Regions from separate parts of the Homo sapiens genome. Here regions 1 and 2 are each linked to region 3. Evidence: promoter capture Hi-C in human tissues and cell types (Jung and others, 2019). All regions are on one chromosome and are shown on one strand. Each heading gives the region's core, a stretch centred on a gene start or on the middle of the fragment in contact. The rest is flanking DNA. Distances are from core to core; before and after follow the strand shown.

What was found. The method cuts DNA at HindIII sites, captures the fragments that hold promoters and counts their contacts. A contact is called where the count stands out against the background at its distance.
Region 1: a contact is called between a fragment that was not itself captured here and the fragment with the promoter of ZNF648 in region 3, in 1 of the 25 tissues and cell types used here (stomach).
Region 2: a contact is called between a fragment that was not itself captured here and the fragment with the promoter of ZNF648 in region 3, in 1 of the 25 tissues and cell types used here (H1 embryonic stem cells).

Annotation. Positions count from the first base shown.
Region 1 is chr1:181,758,143-181,760,842 of GRCh38, forward strand. CACNA1E (calcium voltage-gated channel subunit alpha1 E) reads left to right here. Exons shown (of 48, transcript NM_001205293.3): 32 at 616-726. Among named protein-coding and RNA genes, the nearest start is that of CACNA1E, 280 kb to the left of the region's middle. The HindIII fragment of the contact is 4,258 bases long and covers 1-2,700 here.
Region 2 is chr1:181,738,235-181,740,934 of GRCh38, forward strand. CACNA1E (calcium voltage-gated channel subunit alpha1 E) reads left to right here. Exons shown (of 48, transcript NM_001205293.3): 24 at 133-192; 25 at 913-1,019. Among named protein-coding and RNA genes, the nearest start is that of CACNA1E, 260 kb to the left of the region's middle. The HindIII fragment of the contact is 3,560 bases long and covers 1-2,700 here.
Region 3 is chr1:182,060,308-182,063,007 of GRCh38, forward strand. It overlaps ZNF648 (zinc finger protein 648), which reads right to left and starts at 1,405. Exons shown (of 2, transcript NM_001009992.1): 1 at 1,261-1,405. The HindIII fragment of the contact is 24,066 bases long and covers 1-2,700 here.

The DNA.
Region 1 (2,700 bases), core at 1-2,500, 300 kb before region 3:
GCCCCAGCGATGGTTCCCTCCCAGGGCAAGTGGGAAGACACCCCAACATCCCAGCCCATCACTGCTTTACCTACTTTTCCATCATTGAATCCTTTTGTGATCTTATTTTGTTCAATAACCCAACCTCTGGGGCTTTGGGGGTCCACTGAGCAAAATGCAGTGCAGACTATAGTAGCCATCCAGGGGCTCCCAAGACCTGAGATGGCAATGGGAGGCAGCTTCAGACAAGGGTGGAAAAATCAGGAGACAGAGATCCATCATCACGGGGTCTAAAGGAGCCTTGGAGTATTCAGAGAGGCTCATCCTATTTAATATTAAATGACTAACTCCAGTAACTAACTCTAGAAAATGTTTCTTCCCTGCCCACCCTCATCTCTAGGAAGACTGGCTGTTTTGCTATTAAGTCTGGTGGGGCGTGGGTCTGTGTTTTCCTTTGTTTTGTTGGGTAGAATATGTGGTTCTCCTCTCCAGCACTCGAAGTCCATCTCTCCTCCTGTACCACACACCAGAGTGTCCCACAGGGCAGGAATGAGAGATGGCCAACCTCAGTGACATGTATTCCCCCTCTTACCTTAAGGCTGTGATTCTTTCTCTCTTCTTTTTTCTTCCTGGCAGTATTATTCTGCTCCCTGTACCTATGAGCTGGCCCTGAAGTACCTGAATATCGCCTTCACCATGGTGTTTTCCCTGGAATGTGTCCTGAAGGTCATCGCTTTTGGCTTTTTGGTATGTTGCTGAATCCTTCCCAGCACTGGGCTTGTCTCTTTCTGTTGGGTGCCTTCCCAGTCTTTGTTGAAGGGGAGGTGGTTACTGCTATTCCAGAAATCACCCACCTAGATGTGGGCTCGTTTTGACTGCTCAGTAAACTGCCGTAGAGACAAGATGATGTGTGAGGAAGCTGGGAGAAAGGGCAAAGGAAGCCACAGCCATCAGCCTGGTCCTGTGAAATTCTGTCAGCAGTCCAGAGGCGGCCATCATTGAGTTTCACTAGAACTGCAATTTATGTGTAGATGAAGGAGGAAGCCAAAGATTGGACTAATAAACTTCGAGTGCTTATTTACTGGTAAAAGGTATAACAGTTTTATAACACAAATGGGAAAATAACTATCTCTCTTAGCCTCAAACATAGCAAATAATAGATTTTTACCTATTAGTCCTTCTGCCATTAGTAACATGAAGAGTAATTTCTGCCAAAGAAAATAGGTGTTTATTACTTATGCCTATAAAGGCTAATGACCTTTAAGGGGTGTGTCTGTGTGTGTGTGTGTGTGTGTGTGTGTGTGTATGGAGTGCAAGGGGAAGGATTCTGGAATTAAGTTTGAGGAGGTTTGGGGATGATGAATTTTTCTGCCATGAGCCCTCTTTTTTCTTCTCCTCAACTACTATTAATAATTATAATTGTTGGGCAAATTCTTGCATCTGTCCTCAAGAGTGTTAAGAAAATCCAGCCCTTGGCTTCAGTGCCCTATAAACAAGATAATCCCCTTGGCCACCCTCCCCCCAACCTGCTTCATTGTGTGCAGCAAGTTCAGTGGGATGCAAGCCCATGTGACAGCTGTTTCACACTTACTTAGGACGTGAGCTACCATTTCAAATTACATGTGTGTATGGCTTTCCCTGCAAGGAGGAGAACTTTGCTCATTATCTGAATAAGTGTTTGTCTGGTAGCAGCTTTAACAGAGACTCTGGGCTGGGTTCGATAATTGTGAGTGTTGATTACGGGGGCTGCTTTTGGTCTCCCAGCGGTTCTTTGAAAAACCATTAATTTGATCATTTTGGGTGGAGAGTTTAAGGGAACCAATTGCAGTTGGCTGCATTGTGTTTGCCTGGCTCCCTTTTGAGTGTTTTGAGACTTGGGGAAATAAAAAAGTAAAAGAAACTACTACCAACAAAGATGCCTTTATAATACAGTCTAGCCCTGAGCAGGGGGAGCTGAGAGAGAGGGAGACGCAAGCACCACAACAGGGAAATTTTTTCTATGCATGTTGATTACTTGTATGTGGTATTGACATTGTCTGTGACTTAAGTCCCATTATGTGTCTAATTATGGTGAGTGCTGAATATATACTCACAGCCTTAACTAGATTCGGCCCTTGAAGCCTGCCTCCTTCCCACCCTACCCCCATGTTTTCATTCAAGGTCTAGAGGGATTTTCACTCTGTAAAAGGTACCACTAATTCTGATAAGTCTTTACATTGTTAAGGCACTCTAAGCTTTCAGAATATTGTAATATATACTATTTCGTTAGATCTTCTCAGTGACTCTGAAATAGGCATGGCAGATGTCACTATCATAATTGCCATTATTGTTGTTGTTATTTTAAATGAGGAAATTGAAGTTCAGAAAAATTGTATAGCTTCTTAAAGATTACACAATGAAAGGCAATAGAATTGCAAGGCTAAATGGGAATAAAAAGGGAAGGGAAAAAGAAAAAGAGGGAAAGATGTAACAACAATTGGTTGGCTATTAAGTACCAAATGCTTTACATATTGCTTTTCTCTCCATAACAATATATTAAATAAGCATTCTTATTTTCTCCTTTTTATGGATGAGCTGGAGCTCAGAAAGGTTGAATACTTTGGCCAAGATTAGTAAGAGGTAGGGCCAGGATTCAGACCCTGTTCTATCTGACTTCAAAGCTCACAATAATCTAGTCTACACTGCACTGTACTATTCTATACCATATACCAGTGTTCTAGT
Region 2 (2,700 bases), core at 147-2,646, 320 kb before region 3:
TTTGTTCTGAGGGTGCAGTGGGTGAGGGCCAGGGTGGGCGTGCACGAGTGCATGTGTCCTGGCAGGTGGGAGCTCATGTAGTAGCCTGTTGGCCACACATGGTCATTTCCTTCCACCATATGTGTCTTTCAGGTCCTGAGGTATTTTGACTATGTGTTCACGGGCGTGTTCACCTTTGAGATGGTTATAAAGGTAAAAACTTCTAGAGAAAACCTGGGCTCTTGGGTTTAGATGGGTCACCTGTCTGCTCCTTAGGCTAGAGCCCTTCCTCAGTGTTACCACCTACCAGCCAATGGCAGCCCTCAGTAGAGCTTCTGCCGCCCCTTCTCTGGCCTCAGAATCCTGAAGAAATCTGTCTCAGCAAGACACGGCTGCGTGGATGTGTTTGTACTGCTGCAGGCCTGTGGACATGGCCCAAGTAGGAGGCAGGCAACAGATGTGCAGACAGGGTTGGGGCCTGCACTCCCCTCCCCAGTGCTTGTCTTGGCTGAGCCTGGGTGTGTGCCAAGGCAAAGGGCTAGGTAGAGATGAGTCTTCCTGGGCTTCATCTAGTCCCAGCCACCACAACACTCCATAGTCTGTCTTGTTCCCAGCCTCATCCATCCAGGATTTTACCCATCTGTGCATATGTGGCAATGCCCAGTGCTCTGAGCCATAAATGAAAGGAGGAATGTGTCAGGGTTCTGTGACAACCAAGGAGTCTAGTGAACCCTGGGTGACTATGAGATGGGGGCCTCAGGACTCAGTTATGTGGAGAAAGCCTGCTGGACCTAACCTCTCATTCTCCAGGTCCTAGCATAGGGTTGGTTGTGGAGACAGTGGCAGTGGGGGCACTGCCATGATGAACAGAGCTCAGGTCAAGTGTTGCCCACACTTTCTTGGCTCACTGTGGCTGTTCATATCCTTCTGCAGATGATAGACCAAGGCTTGATCCTGCAGGATGGGTCCTACTTCCGAGACTTGTGGAACATCCTGGACTTTGTGGTGGTCGTTGGCGCATTGGTGGCCTTTGCTCTGGCGTAAGTGACTCTTTTCATATTTGATTCCCTTCCTTCCCCTCTTCCTGGAGACTCCAGTTGATTTGAAGCCCTTTCCAGAAATGCAACATGCAGGGTGATGCCAAAGAATGCCCCCGCTGGAAATCTGCTCCCCAGTCGCCCCCAGCAGAGCTCCTGAGCGCCTTGCAGCTCCAGCTCACGTGACCTGAGTGGCAGAACGGGGGAAGCAGGAGTAGGGAGCGTCAGGAGGGAGAAGTCAGAGGCCCTAGGAATTCCTTTCCTAGAGATGAGTAAGCATGGGCAGGCACTCACAGTGTGGACAGTGTTTCCATGCATTCAGCAATGGACCCAGGAACAGCTTATGGGCCCTTTCTTTCTTGAGTGTGTCAATCAAGGAAGCAGCTTGAAAGAAAGATGCAGAGGGTAGAGCAAAGTTGAGGATCACGGAATCCTAGGCATGGTGAGGTTTTCTATTCATAGCAGGTGTAAACGAGAGCTCTTCCAGGGATGCCAGAACCATGCTTTTGCACAAACCTAATAATATGTGTAATCTCCAAAAGGAAAGGCTTTCCAAACTTTCCTTGATAACATACCTAGGAAAACAGTCTTAAACCATTCAGGCAACAAAATCATGTTCATAATATTTGTGGGATTTTTTTCCCCCCTGCACATGGATCCAGCTCTAGCCAGTTTTCAATCACATTCTGACATTTCCTGTGGAATCTAGCCAAGGAAAGGGCTCTTCTAGCCCTCCTGGGATTAACTAGGAAATGGGATGCTTTCAGGGCCTTTTTCCTAACCCGGTGTATAGAGTGTCCCAGTAGGATGAATGACAGCCTCAGGGCTCTGTCTGTACCTTGTTCACCCTGAGCAGCTTCAGCCTCTTCCAGGAGGCACAACAGAATTCTCAGAGCCATCCCTCAAGTCTCTCTGAGTACAAGTGGAAGCCTCATCTTTAGGCTAAGCAAGGCTAGCTACACTGTGTAGTGAGGCAGGAGAGCTTTCAGGAGCTTCTGTCATTGATGGCAGCTGCAAAAGGAACACAGTATCTTCATACGTTTACCCTTCTGAGTGGTTTTCCCTCCAAGGGTTTGCCCTTCCAAGTGTTTAGAAAGAGATCACCCTTGGAAGGGTTTGCCCTTCTAAATGTTTAGAAACACAGGGAAGCTGACAGTGCTTCTCCCCAAGCTTCTCTTCAAGCACTGTCAGCTGCTGTCTCTTATCCTTTCTGGCAGAAAAACAGGTGGGATAAAAATTACCAGATGTTTCTCAAGTGGCCTGGTGGGGGTGGGGATAGTGGAGGGCTCTCTCTCTCTTAAGGAGAGGTACAAGATACACTCCCAGCTGTGCTAGGAGTGTAGGATCTCCCAGACCCTGGAACTGGACTGTGTCCACTGCTTCCTCAGCCATGAGAGACCCTTCAAAAGAAAACCACATTGAGCATAGTTTGTGACTCTAAAATGGGCTGGTGATCAAGGTAATTCCAGTGTCCCTTGTCCCCTTGTGCACATGTTAATTCCATTGTGTGCAGTCACCTTTGTCCCCCACAAAAAGAAAGCTTTCTGTCACATGTGGCTGGACTGTTCTTGAGGAAATTTTACAGAAGCATGGGGTATTTTCTCAAGCATCTGGGCCCTGTCTGGATTCTCATGGTGCAATGAAAGGAAAGGCAGCTCTGGCTCCAAAAGAGGGACTTCCAGCT
Region 3 (2,700 bases), core at 155-2,654:
TTCACTGCCATCTCAGACTGGATAAAAGGAGTGATCTTTGTATTTGGCTGGTACAGTTAACCCTATCCCCATCTCATTAAACTGTTCTTCCCTGGTTTCTGCCTGATCATGAGCCCAGTTACCCTGTGTGTATGAAGAGGGAGCAGTATGGAGGAATCCTCACTTTCTGCTCTGGATACAGAAGCCATGGATGGAGGGAGGACACATTGCAGTTGTGACTGGAATTCAGCATCTCACGTCTCTTTGTGCCCTAAAGCCCAGGGACCACTCCTCTTCTCTCACTGCTTCCCTCACCCATCACATGGCAGAGGGTAGCTGGCATGCCTTTTGACAGGAGCCCAGATCTGACATATTTTCAGCATAGTGGATCTTAGGGAGTGAATGTGTAGTTCATAGAGGGGACATACCACTAGCCAACCTCATAGAACTTGCTCAGACCAGCAGGCTTGATCCGGGGCTGTAGGTCCCCCAGCAGGGACAGCAAAGGGATGCTGGATTTGTATGAAACACATGTCTTAGGTCTCTTTCCCTCTTTACGACAACATACTGCCTGTTTCTGTGGCACTGTTCACAGATCACTGACTTTACCCGCTCCCCACCCCACCTCCAGCACAAATACCCCATTTTCCACAGTCTGTGTGTCATTCTTTTCCTCTGGGCCACAGGGGAGCCTCCTTAGGGTGGCACACAGCCCTCCACTAGCTAACCAATCTCCTCTCCAGAGCCCGTCAGGAGACTCTCTTTTCAGATGAGGTATCCCTCCTCCATCTGAAGCCATATCCCCAGTGAATATGTCCTGCTTTCTTCCTCCTGTCGCTGCCACACGCATGCTCTCGACCACCAGGAAGACCTGGAGGCAGGCAGGGGCACAGGGAGGGATTTTCTGGCAAAGTCTGCACAAATATACCTGGTCTGAAAGAGGAACACTGATGCCATGGTATGGCGGGCCTCTCTGCTCCCCAGATGTGCTAGTCCCCAGAGGCTGTCAGAGCAGTCCTTTGCTGGAACTTCCTCTGCACTTGCCAGCCAAGAGTGGACCAAATGCAGCCTTTGACTCCCCAACCTCATACATCCATCAACACTCTGCAGAAGCCTACCCTAAGGGCTTGTTGCAACCCCAGCCCATACCCCTCTTCTTTCCTTCATTCTTTCCAGATTGTACTGAAGTCCATCCTAGGCAGCCGCCTCCTACTTTCTTCTCTGCTCACCGCCTTCAGGCCTTGCTCTCCACTCCTGGCTCACACACAGACGGTTGCTTACCTGGGAAATGCAGACAGCAGTGTGGGGCCTCTGCCCTGGCTTCTGTGACACGTGGGCTCTCAGCAACAGGAACCAGTTAGGTACAAATCAGCAGAGATGGTGTCTCTGTCTCTCACGCTTTGTGTCCAGTCCAGCGGCTGCAGAGAGAGCCTCTGGAGGTGGGGCCAGTGTAATACACTCAACCTTCCTGCCTGCATCCAGAGAGCAGCCTGGGAAATAGAGTGGGGCTGCCCTCTCTCACTGCCTGAACCGATCCTCTGGCTCCCTCTGCTCCTGCCTCCCCTCCCTGCCAAAGCCAGCCTTCCTCCTTCCCTCCTCTCAGTCTTCCTGCAGGTGGCCCTATGCCTCTTGTTCACTTTCACTCCTTCCTTCCACAGAGCAGTCCATCCTTCACTTTAGCCCTGGTATGCCCATGGGCCACATGTCACTTGTGAGCTTCCTGGGTAGCATGCTTTTTCCCTCCTGGAAGGCAGAACAGAGTATTTGGCCTATATGCCCACCTCCCTATTCTAGTACCCACCTTTTGCAGGACTGTGAGTTGCAGAACTGTGAGGGGTTGGGATTCCCAGAATTCTTTGTAGCAGCCCATTCATTGGCTCAAAGATGCCCACAGCCTTTTAACTGGGAGTAGGGGTGCAGGGAGATGGTTTTCTGTCTTATGCATACAGATGCCAGGCCTGTCTGGGGTCTCTTTCCACTTTCAGCATTGATTCCCATGCAGGTTCATTTTGAAGAGAAGGATTGGCCCAAGGTAGAAGACTCAGTACATTCAGAATTTTTACCCACTCAAGTCTAATGTGCATTTATTAGGATGAACATTCAGGGCATTAAAATAGGTGATGGAAGTGTGGTTCCTGTGATGTCACTAGGTGGTCACAAAGTATACTGATTGACAGCACGGTCTGGGTCTGGGTTTGAATCTTACTACTTACTAGCTGTGTGATCTTGGGCAAGTTATTTAACCTCTGTGTGCCTTAGTGTCTCATCTGCAAAACAGGGACCAGGATACTATTGCCATCATGGAAGTTTGGGGAGTATTAAATGAGATAATGCATGTAAGGAGCTTAGTTCGGTGTTTGGAACATAGCAAGTACCCAAAAACGTTAGCTGCTTTCATTGTTATTATTGACGATTTTTAAAAATTTTAAGTTCCGGGATACATGTGCAGGATATGCAGGTTTGTTACATAGGTAAACATGTGCCATGCTGGTTTGCTGCACCTATCAACCCTTCCTTCACCTAGGTATTAAGCCCGGCATGCATTAGCTATTTTTCCTGATGCTCTCTCCACCCCGCACTCCCCCAACTGGCCCCAATATGTGTTGTTCCCCTCCCTGTGTCCATGTGTTCTCACTGTTCAGCTCCCATTTATAAGTGAGAACATGCGGTGTTTGGTTTTCTGTTCCTTTGCCAGTTTGCTGAGGATAATGCCTCCAGCTC